2 separate regions of the Homo sapiens genome follow, and region 2 is linked to region 1. Evidence: promoter capture Hi-C in human tissues and cell types (Jung and others, 2019). All regions are on one chromosome and are shown on one strand. Each heading gives the region's core, a stretch centred on a gene start or on the middle of the fragment in contact. The rest is flanking DNA. Distances are from core to core; before and after follow the strand shown. Region 1 holds the start of SYTL2 (synaptotagmin like 2). Region 2 has its middle 17 kb from the start of PRSS23.

Region 1 (5,770 bases), core at 769-3,268:
GCACAAGGTGCTAATTCATTCATTCCACAAATGTTTATTGAGCAAAACCTGAAAAAGGCCTCTTAGGGGACAGTGGAATCATTCACCAGCCAACGGTTAGGGCTAACGGGTCAGATGTGGACAATCAATCTTTCATTAGACCCCAAACCACCTCTAGGATAAAGCAAACAGGGCCCTGCCCCACCCACGCACTAGCAGCTGGGCAGGATTAGGGTAGGCCTTCTAGAACAGTACTGCTGCTGAGAGGCTAAGGCAGTCACAGATTACCTCCAGAATAACGGAAACTCCTGCACCATAAATGACATAATAGCTCTAAGATGTTTTGCATAGTGCCTGACACCTGGTGAGAACACAATGTTAGACATTTTTGCTCTCCTTATTCCAGCTTGCTCTTACTTAAGGAGCACAAAGACAGTGTAAAGAACACAGGTTTTAGAATCAGAGATTGGATTTGAATTCCAGCTATGCTACTTCCTAGCTAAGTGACTAAAGGAAGCAATCTTTCTGAGCCTGTTTCTCACCTATAAAATAGGGTATAGTACATCACCCCTCATGTGGCTTTGTGAGAATTAAGGATATATTACATACAAAGAAGTGTCTGGCCCATAGTAAGTGCCCACTAAACAGCAGTCAACATTGCCCTGCTGCCGTCCCCACACCTCTTCTCCTTCCTAGCTGCTCTTGATGGGTTCTGCAATCTGATTTCACCTGGATACCACACTAAGGGTGAGAAGGGGCAGAACTTCAGGGGTGGAGGAAAGTGAGGGAAGGGAAATGCTGGAGACCTTCCATAGAAATCCAGCCAAGTCCTCAGCTCCTTTCAATCATCCTACTCTATCTGGCTGCTCCATCCAGCAGACAGCAGGGGTCACCATCCTGGTGGGGAATGGCTGCCAACAAGGGGACGGGAAGCTGGATGGCAGTTTGCATCCACCCCACCTTCCAGGGTCTATCTGTCTGAAGCCCCACCGGGCTTCCTCTGCACATCCCTGCCGGGCTGTGTGGCTCAGGGGGCTGACAGGGTGATTCATAGCCTGTTCTTATCTAGGCTTCTATCTCAACCCTGCGCCCAAAGCCCTGGAGGCTGCTGGTCACAAACCAGCACTAAATGAAAAGAAGAACTTTTCATTAAGGCAGGAAGTGGAGCCCCTCAAGGTCAAAGGGGATTTATAAAGAGAGGAGGAAAGAAAGGGAAGACGCGGCAGGATGGGTGCAGAGAAAGAGAGACCCACTTCCTATATGCTGGTGGAGCCCTGTGTCTTAGACGCTAAAAACAGTCGCTTTTCCACTTCAAAGGATGATAAAGCCCACTCGTGTAGTTTATAGCTCGCCGTGGGACGAGGTGTGGGTATGGAAGAGAATTCCAAAACACGTCTTATTTTCAAAGGAGAAATCATCATCCCCTGGCCGGCCCTTCCCAACACCCCACCTGTAAACAGGTGCTGACGCTCCTACCTTTCTGCACCTGAGCAATCTGGGGGCAGTTACTCTGCAGCCAGGTCTCCCCAGCACCCAGCCCCAAGCCCAGGTCAGTCCCTGAAAGCCCTAGAAAACGCGATAGCTCAGCAGAACCCTCGCCTACCCGGGCATCCCAGCTTCCTGGCCGCCTGGGCAGCGGAGGTGGCTCTGGAGTAGGTGGGAAACTGAGGAAAGGAGCTTTCCCCGTGCCAAAACGCAGTTCCCATTTTAGAACTGGTTAGACTAAGGAACAACATTCTACACCACCTCCCTCACTTAACAGAGGAGGAAGCAGAGACCAAGAGAGGGAAACAAAGTTGCCCGAGGTAACACAGCGAGTGGGCCAAGTAGAGACTGGAACCCGAGTGCGCACCTCCGAGTCGCTGCCGGGCAGGGAGCGCGCCTCGCCGTCTCTCTTGTCTTCTGGCCCCCAGCCCTCGGCCTGGCGGTGCAAACCGCGCAGCCCCGGGCGCGGCGCGTTACCTTCCCCCGGGCAAGGCGTTGCGAGCCTTCACTCTCCCGACGGACGCTGGCGGCACGGCCCGGGTGTCGCCCGGCACTGTCAACGCAGAGCGGCGTGCGCGAGTCCCTCCCCGCTACCCCCGCCCCCGGCGGGCGGTGCGGTGGGGCCGGTCCCGGGTGCTCGGGCCAATGGCGCTTCGCCCGCTCCCCGCCCCGGCCCGCCCCGGCCTCCTCGCCCGGCACACAGCGCCTGCCAGCCCCTGCCCTCTCCCCTTCCCTCCCTTCGCCCTCCGCCCCCGCCTGCTGCTTCTCTCCGGTTCCTAGCCTCCTTCTCAAGTGTACCTTGCCCCGAAACAACCTGTTTTCTGTGCAAATAAAGCAGCACTGTTGTTATTGTTATTATTATTTTTATCACGGCGCGTTAGGGGGCCTTGGAGCCCGAGAGTGTGGAGCACTAGGAGCCTCTGCACTCCGAGAAGGGACAGCCACCGCGCAGGGAAAGGGGCGCGGAGGGTATGGAGCCCGGTCATGGGGTAACTTGCTTTAACCCTCGGGACGTCAATTTCCTCACATGTGAAATAGAAGAAGGGGGGAAAAAAGTTGTTGAGAGGACTAAATGAAGTGATGCTTTAAAATACAATAATACCTAGAGAAAGGTGAGGGCGTCATGCACTGCCTGAGCTACTTACTGGGGTATGCACAGAGGACTGGTAAGCTCCTGGAAGACGCTGTGTGGCAGGGAGGCAGACAATGCAATACAGTAAATACAATATTGTGGTCGGGCGCGGTGGCTCACACCTGTAATCCCAGCATTATGGGAGGCCGAGGCAGGTGGATAACCCGAGGTCAGGAGTTCGGGACCAGCCCGGCCAACATAGCAAAACTCTGTTCTAATTAGAAAAGAAAAAAGAAAAATTAGCTGGGTGTGGTGGCGAGCGCCCGTAGTCCCAACTACTTAGGAAGCTGAGGCAGGAGAATCGCTTTAACCCGAGAGGTGGAGGCTGCCGTGAGCCAAGATCGCACCACTGCACCCCATCCTGGGTGACAGAGCAAGACTCTGTCTCAAAAAAATAAATAAAATAATTTAAAAATTGTATCACGACCTATTTTTTACAAGTTACCCATGATGGGGCCAGCCCAGGCAAACCTCTGAAGGAGATGAACCTTAAAGCCTTTTTCCTTATCATTTCCTGGACTAGTGTTGTCCATTTAACTGAGGGTGGCCCAGGTCTGCCTTTGGTTCTTCCAAAGGTCTTCCTTCTCCCAAACTTACAAATACTTATCCCCAAGGGCTTCAGTTAGTGCCCAGTGCAGGCTGCTAGCCTGGCCCAAGAGTCCTGGCACTGTGCAGAGATGTGTATTCTGGCTTCCTTCAGCCTTTGAGAGCCTGGTGTGTCCCTGTGCTGGGTGAGCATGCCACATGCAAAAGAGGAATAAGCCACTGGTCTTGCCTTTGAAGAAACAAATTTGTAAATAATTTCATTTTAGGGTAAGTGTTATAATAGGTTGACAAAGTGTTGTAGAGTCACTACGCTGAAGGAGGGGGACAATAAAAAATACAAATGTGACCAAGGTAGGTCTTGAAGGAGGGCTACAAATTAGGTCAGATTGAAGGGGTGACAGAAGACTGGGCACAGAGAGGCAGGCAGAGACATGGAGATGCCTGTCATATGTCACGGCTATTGCACAGGATTTGGGACAATGAGGCAGAGATGAAGCTAAGGAGGTAGGTGGGCAGATGTTGGAGGAGTGGCTGTACCTGCCTTGCTGAGGGAAGCAGGCTGTGTCCTGTTGGTGATGGCTGTTGGCGAATGATTTTAGGCAGGGGAGTAGCGTGACCTCAGATGCTTTTGGTACTTCACTTTTATTGTTGATTGCACCTGCCTTGGTTATCCCCTTCCTGCCCCTCTCTAGCTCTGGAGGGCAGGCACTGGGTCTTGCTCACCTCTGGGTGCCTTGTATCATCTGGCATAGGACTTTGAAGGAACTAAATACATGCTGTTCCCAGTATCACTCGTCCCCTGGAAACAAATAGCAATGCCTAAATGCTAGAGAGGGTCACAGGATCCTTGCTTCAGGTTGTGGGGCAGGCAAGTGGGGGAGAAATTTTAAGGCAGGGTCTTGTTATGGCTCCCAATTCATCTAAATCTTGTATGGCTCAGAGACTAAATCTTAGAGCTCTTGGCCAAGATCCAAATGCTGTTAGAAATGTCAATTTCTAATAAGACCTTAGACCAATTACTCAACCTCCCTGTGCTTCAGTTTGCTCATTTGTTAGAGAGAAAATAATTGCACTGCTCTCTCAGGCCTACTGTGAAGATTAAAAGAAGATGCACATGTTTAGCATGATGCCTTGCACATACAGTGCACTGAAAAAGCCTTGGTTAACACGATCATATCAAGTCAGCAATGGCCTGTTCCACTTATCCCATAGGAACCCTTCAAAATGGTTTACATATAAGTGACACTTAAACTTTAGAGAATTCTAGGTTGACATTGAAGGGGAAGGCAAGAGGGTAGGGATAGCATGGTGTAAGGTTAAATGCACAGACTTTGGTGTATCTCCTGGCTCTACCACAGAACTCGCTGGTTGACTTTGGACAAGTCACTTAATTTCCTTCTTTCTCTGGGTGACTTTAGACAAGTCTCCTCCCTCCCTCCCTCCCTCCCTCCTTTCCTTCCTTCCTTCCTTCCTTCCTTCCTTTTTTGGCAGGGTCTCACTTTGTTGCCCAGGCAGTGGCACAAACACAGCGCACTGCAGCCTCAACCTCCCAGGCTCAAGCCATCCTCCCACCTCAGCCTTCCAGGTAGCTGGGACTACAAGCACACACCACCACGCCCAGTTAATTATTGTATTCTTAGTAGAGACGTGGTTTCGCAATGTTGACCTCTTGAGCTGAAGCGATCTGCCCGCCTCAGCATCTCTAAGTGTTGGGATTACGGGCGTGAGCCACTGCACCCAGCCTAAGTCACTTAACTTCTGTTAGCGATTGTTCTTCTATAAAATAGAAGTAGTCATATTACCTGCCCCATGCCAAGGAGATAACACATAACACATATAGCATATTGCCTGGCCCAAGGTAAGATCTCAATTCCTGTTAGCTAATGGTGTGATAATGGTTGGAAGAGAGTTATTATAGTTTTTGGAAAGAATAATCTCCATGCCTCTGCCTGCCTCTCTGCACCCCAGTTTTCTGTCACCCCTTCCAGATGACCTAACTTGTAGCCCTCCTTCAACATCTACCTTGGTCACATTTGAATGTAAGCTTTTATTGTCCCCCTCCTTCAGTGTATGTGACTGTAACTAATATATTGGAAAGGGGAAATGTAATCCTGGAAAAAACTAAACCTACATGTAAAGGTTGGTGCTGGATCTGTGAAAACTAACTGGGACAGGAGTAGAAGTGAGCTTAGAAAACTGCAGGTAGGGCATGGGCCTGAAAGAGTTTTGTAGGTAGACTTATTTAAGTTGAGAACCCCTGTCTGAACAAGGATAAGATTCTTGTAGCTCTATGGAACTGAACAAAATGGAATATTGTTTGCAGAATTGAGTATGACCACTCTCTGAGCTGCCTTCTTGGAATGGTGGAAGGCTGGTGCTTTTAAATGATAATCTGAAATTTAACCCCTAACACCACCCAACACCACCTGTGACTTTGTAGAGTCACAGGCACATTGCTAAATCGTTTAGTTTTATCAGCTAGTAAGTAAATATTTATTGGTAGCATAAGCTAGGTGTGGTTCCTTCAAGCTTGAAATATCCTTCCCTCTGTTTCTGACCCAAGGAATCCTTCTTATGCATCAAGGCCTAGGACAAGTGTCACCAGATTCACCCTCCTAGACTGAAAAA
Region 2 (5,775 bases), core at 3,206-5,705, 1.0 Mb after region 1:
AAGATCAGATTGTGCTTCAGGTTATGTTTAGAAATGTCCCTCTGGCTATGGTGGGAAAGACGGGGTGGAAGGCAGGAGACCAGAGAGGAGTCTGTCTAGTCCTCCAAGCCTCAGCTGTTTTCATGACAAGCAGAACCTTGCCTTGTGTGTCTCTGTGCACCCACCATGCAAGCATGGGGCACTGTGCACCAGGTATGCTTATCATGCCTGTGAATGAGGGATTGATTAACTGAATCCTCCAGGGACACTTGGGACAGCTCTGCCCACAAGAAGAGCAAGAACCCAGGCATCAATGGGGTGGTGCAGACATGGGCTCAGGGAGGCCCTCTGCCATCCCCTCCTGCCTGGACCAATGTTTTCTGAGAGGCAGAAAGTGCAGGGTGACTCTTCACTGTGGTATTTGTCTATGTGTGTATCAAGTGTGTAAAAATACTGTGCTCTCTTAGTCTTGATTTATCACTGCCCCTTGTCTTCGGGCTATTAAAAGGACTAAGGCCCTGTCTTCCATAAAGAGCAAGAACAGCTTTGAGAAGCGTCAAGTTCCAATCCAGTGAAGAAAGACTGAAGTGTTTGCCTTGGAGAGAATGAGGAGAGTCTCAGGAAATGAAATAAACAGAACAAGGGGCTAGAATCCAAGCAGCAGCCGTGGGAACAGCAGCCAGTTCTTGCCATCCAATGAGATGTCTTCTCAGGATGGCCTTCCCTGGCCATCTTCTCTGAAATTCAATGCCCCTCAGCCCCTTCCTCGGGGAGTTCTTATTGCCCTTCCCTGTTTTATTGTCCTGCTCTGCACTTATCACTAACACTGTTATATTTATGTATTTGTCCTCTGCCACTAGAATGTAATTTCATGAGGACAGAGGTTTTTATCTGTTGTGTCCCCACAATTAGAACAGTGCCTGGCATGTAGGTTCTCAATAAATAATGTTATTCAAATGGCTGATTGAACGAATGATCCCAGATGGTTTATATAACCCAGAACATGATGACTTAGGGTTATGTGAGCTTGGATATTTCTTGGGTCCAAACACATCCCAGAATAAAACTCTTGTGGTGTTTTGTATGTATTCTGTTCTATTCTAGCATGTGTTACATTGCTGTTGTTATTTATGTGTCTGCCTCTTCTACAAGACTATGAGCCTTGCAAGAGCAGGGGCTGAGTTCTGTTCTTCTGTGTCTTCCCTTATCTATCCCATGGTCTAGCACAGGAAATATTTGTGAGAAAGTGAGTGTCTGTCTGTCTGTCATGACTTAGCCTGTCATGACATAGATCCTCTCCCACATCTCACAGGCAACAAGCTAGAGTTCTGTGCTATCCATCACCTCCTCTCCAGCTCCCCTGCCACTGCCCTGATTTCACCTTGTTGTTTCTCCTTTAACTATGACAGCAGATTCCAAACTGGATTCTGAGCCTCCCAGCTCGCCCACACCTGCCCAAGACATGTTCTGAAGCAAAGACCTGATCAGGCCCCTCCCCTATGTTTCCTATTGACTAGATGCTGGTTACTAGAGAAGTTTAGTTTTCTTAGCCATGAATCCATGACCAATCCAATATAGTGATCAGATTTATCCCCCATTGCTTCCCAGAGTCACATAACCTGTCGTCTAGCCAAGTTGTACCAAACACATCCGTGTTTTCAACCTTCTGTCATTGCTCAAGCTCTCCTACCCTCCAGCTAGGTTGCCCTTCCTCCATCTCTTCAATTAGTCAATCATTCAGTTATTCATTCAGCAAATGTCCTCAAGCCCACCTCGGTGCCAGTCACTGTGTTCACGCTGGGGCTGCAGAGATGACTGAGATACATCCCTGTGCTCAGGGTGTTCATGCGTCTTCTCCTTTTGAGGTCACTGTAGTCATGACTCTTGCTCTACCTCCCAGAGTGATGAGGCTCAGTAACTACCCTCTCCACAAAATATCTTGGCCTCAGTACAATGGAATTGCCACTTTGTAAATTGAATGAGTTGAGTGCTTCCCCTACATTTTAATAAGTCTTTGAGTTACCGTCCTGCCTGATTATTACATTTCCTTTCTTGGATTTATTAAAACTTGCTCCACCCCCAGTTCCCTGATGGAAAATGCCATGTTTGGTAAACTAACATAGCCCCCAGCATGACTAATATCCTCTGTGGATAAGGCATTCTGGGACATAAGGACACTGTTTTTTTAAAGTGACAGGTTTTACTACTCCAGGATGATTTCCAGACCAGCTGAACACAGCGTTGGAATAGAAATGCCACCACTTTGTCTTTCTACTTTCACAGAAAAGATGTGTTGGTTGAGTATAACATAATATCAGGAAGAATTCATTCAATTCCTTCATTATATCTTTACCGATCAGCCTCTTTATGCTTTGTTTTGTTCTTCAAGCTGTTTAGTGTCCCAAATTCTCTTCACTTTGTCTGAGGTCTTGAAAATTGTAAAATCCTATGAAGATTCATCTGCAGAAAAAGTTTAACTTGAAAATCTAATTATTTATAAGACCCACTTTTGTGAAAGAATAAAACATGATCATGCTTGAGTCTAAAACTCTGGACATTTATAGTTGCGATCAGATTTATTTCCATTCTATATTTTTTCAAATGGCCTATTTTTGCTTGAAAATATGGTTTTTGAGGGGCAAGAAAGCCTTTTTTTGTGATTTTTTTTATTGCCTTCTAACTGTGGGCTTCTGTTTCCCTCATGCTTTCTATTTCATGTATAGTATATTTTGGATCATGTTTTTCCTGACTCTGGAACTTCCTATAACTTTTTATATGGTGTTCCTTTTAGATACTGTTTTAAAAACTCTTTCTTTTGAAATGTGTCAATCTGTCCAGAGAATTAAGTTAATGATGTGGCTATTTTTAAACTCTTTAGATAGCTATGGTTGAAAAGACAAAAAACAAAGTGAGCAATTCTGTGACTGCAGATAGAACTTTTCTAAATGGCTGGCTGGCATTTTTGAGACAAAACTCTATACTTTTATTGAAATACCTCTATTTCTGGCTCATGGATTGTCACCGTATTCTAGAAGTAAGACAAAGAGCCTTGTCTGGTGGACCTGAACACCAATTAGAGTTTCTTTTCAAGAGTATCACTATTCAGCTCTCCTGTTTGCCACTGGCCAGTTGACTTTTTATAGCCAGTGAAAATCCATCCAAGAATCCTGCAGTTTCTTCATGAATTTGTTCTTGTAATGAATTTACGTTGTGTTCAGGCAAGTATCAGATCATTCATTTATGAAACCAACAAGCATGTATTGAGTACCTGTAATGTGCCAGACACTTTTATGAATGATTTACATATATTAATTAATTCACTTCCCACTACAAACCTATGAAGTAGGCATTGATTTTGTATCCATGTCAGAGAGGGGCTAATTGAAGCAAGGTAACTTGCCAAAAACACACAGCTAGAAATGGGATTCATATCTTAGCAGTCTGCCTTGGGAGTTCATGCTCTTATTCTACTAATAGCAAGGTGCCATAAGACTACCGTGAGTGGAGCAACTAACCATGCCTCCAGATTGGGAGTCAGGAGCCTCAGGGAAGGCAAATTCAGAACAAGAGTTGTTTGATCCTTGATGAAGAGGCTTAATCGTTGATTTGATCCTTGTTAGCAACTGATTAGCACATACCAAATTACCTGCAGAGAAGATACACCAGAAAAAAATATGTGCACATATCTGCAAAGCTGTATTACATACCTAAAAACTTTGTATCATCAGTACAAGTATAAAACAAATCATGTGTGATTTGATTCATTTATACATGCTAACCAAATATTTTCAGATTTCCTTTATGCTGTGCCACATCATATGTATCATTAATTGAAATCTATTTTGAATGGCCAACATTCAGAAGTTTCTCGAGTGCCTGGGGTGGGAATCTAAATTTTTAAGACACACTATTGTTTCAACCATTGTTTTTCCTTATAACATGATTCTGATCAATTTGTATTTAGTAAGTGTTTCCGACCATTTAGAAAGACCTTTCCTTTCTAAATCAACACGTAACTTGAAAAAATAAATCAAAATTTTGAAATATCACCTTGTTCTGTAGATTCAGACTAAACGATCTCAGATTTCTTCATGTGTTGGAAAATGTACTTAAAAAAAATCTTTCCCCGAGGCATCTTCTTTGCCAACTGGACTGACTTTTGCTCATTCTTGGATTGCCCCCTAGTGGTTTATTTAACTTATGACTATTTCCCAGATGCTCATCGGCAACTCGTGGTTTCTTTGAATTTGTTTTTAGTTTGATCTTTTCCACACCTTCTCCCATTTGCAGAGAGGGGCTTCCAAAGACAGTGTCTTTGAATGAGGGTGAGCAACGTGCAAAGTGGCACAAACGCTTAGTGTTAATCAATACATGCCATTAATGATGGTGGTGAAATCCTTCTTTCAAGTTTGTTCTCTTTTTTTCTTTGTGCTGTTTTTAACTTTGCCAACTCCTTACTTTCTTCCCTCTGTTAACATCCTACTGGAGTGGTGCCAGGTAATCTGGTGGCACAGGATGACTTACAGGCAATGCTGTGTCTTGAAAATGCCAATTAGGAATGCTGAATGCTGCTGGGCGGGAGTCCCATGCTCTCACCCATATAACAAGTCAGCACTCCATAGGCCTCAGTCAGACCCAGACTTCTTGGCTCCTTTTGGGTAGCTAAGGCTATGACTCGCTGGCCTAGACACTTAAGCATCATCCAAATAGCGAGAAAAACCTTTGAGTTTCTGTAGAAAGCCAGCGAGAGACCCAGACAGCATCACAGACCTGACACTCTGCAGAACTCTGGGTCCAGGCCATCTGCACCAATTAGACCAGAACCAAGAAACGCAGTGCAAGATGCATTATTAATTCAAAACTTTTTTCAATAAGAAAAAAGCCAATTATTGGCTCCATTTTTTTTTAGAGAGAGAACACCTACACTGCTATATATAATTTATTAACTTAGTTTAGTCTCTCAATATTTAGCAAGTTTGTTTAAAAATTACCATTCCCATTGGTTTATAGTGACATGAATATAAACCCATAATTTCAAAGTCAGCATTCCTTTCACTGTGAACATAAGGCTTCTTAAGAGATAGTGGGGGTTGGGGAACAGTAATGACTGTGGCTGGTGGGCACTGTTCAAAGCCAAAAAGACTGGCAGGTTTGGAAAGGCATACACTGTGTATAGACACTCTCTCAGTATACTACTGTTCCCCACACTTTTGCTGTACATTCTTGTCTCAAAATATGGTATAAATTATTCCCTTAAATTTGAAAAAACAATTAAGATGAATACATTTTCATCTTCATTTCACAATAACTCTTTTAAATATAAAAAGTTCCTCATGTTTGTTAAATCTGTTCAAAAGTTGCATTTAAGTACTTTCTTCACAACATGTACAATGTTTTCATCCTTAGTGCCTCATTACAATCAGTTTGGCAATAAGACCTCCAGTGCTTTATCAAAAATGGCATTCAATAGATTATAAGATTGATAAATCTGCATTTGAATCAGTCTTACCACAATGAATTATAACAAAGTCCAAAAAATGTATAACTATTCATCAACACCCTTGGAACCTATGAATTATTGCAAATAATCTCCCACGTGCATGTAATTCAAACATAAACTTTGTGGGGAGGGGGTGTAAAATAAATACTACAGTATTTCTTCAATTTTATTTAATGCTGCCTAGCTGGTTAAATGAAAGATTAATTACTAACAGGAAGAGTCAAAATTTTAAGGACTGTTTTCTAAGAAGGACAATTTTGCAAAACAAAGATAAGCAAGAGCCTATGCAAATACAT

The links. The method cuts DNA at HindIII sites, captures the fragments that hold promoters and counts their contacts. A contact is called where the count stands out against the background at its distance.
Region 2: a contact is called between a fragment that was not itself captured here and the fragment with the promoter of SYTL2 in region 1, in 1 of the 25 tissues and cell types used here (hippocampus).

Annotation. Positions count from the first base shown.
Region 1 is chr11:85,809,123-85,814,892 of GRCh38, forward strand. It overlaps SYTL2 (synaptotagmin like 2), which reads right to left and starts at 2,019. Exons shown (of 20, transcript NM_206927.4): 1 at 1,832-2,019. RefSeq lists a silencer at 1,978-2,157. The HindIII fragment of the contact is 9,754 bases long and covers 1-5,428 here.
Region 2 is chr11:86,814,507-86,820,281 of GRCh38, forward strand. It overlaps a transcript of PRSS23 not described here. Among named protein-coding and RNA genes, the nearest start is that of PRSS23, 17 kb to the left of the region's middle. RefSeq lists a silencer at 4,021-4,315. The HindIII fragment of the contact is 9,327 bases long and covers 1-5,775 here.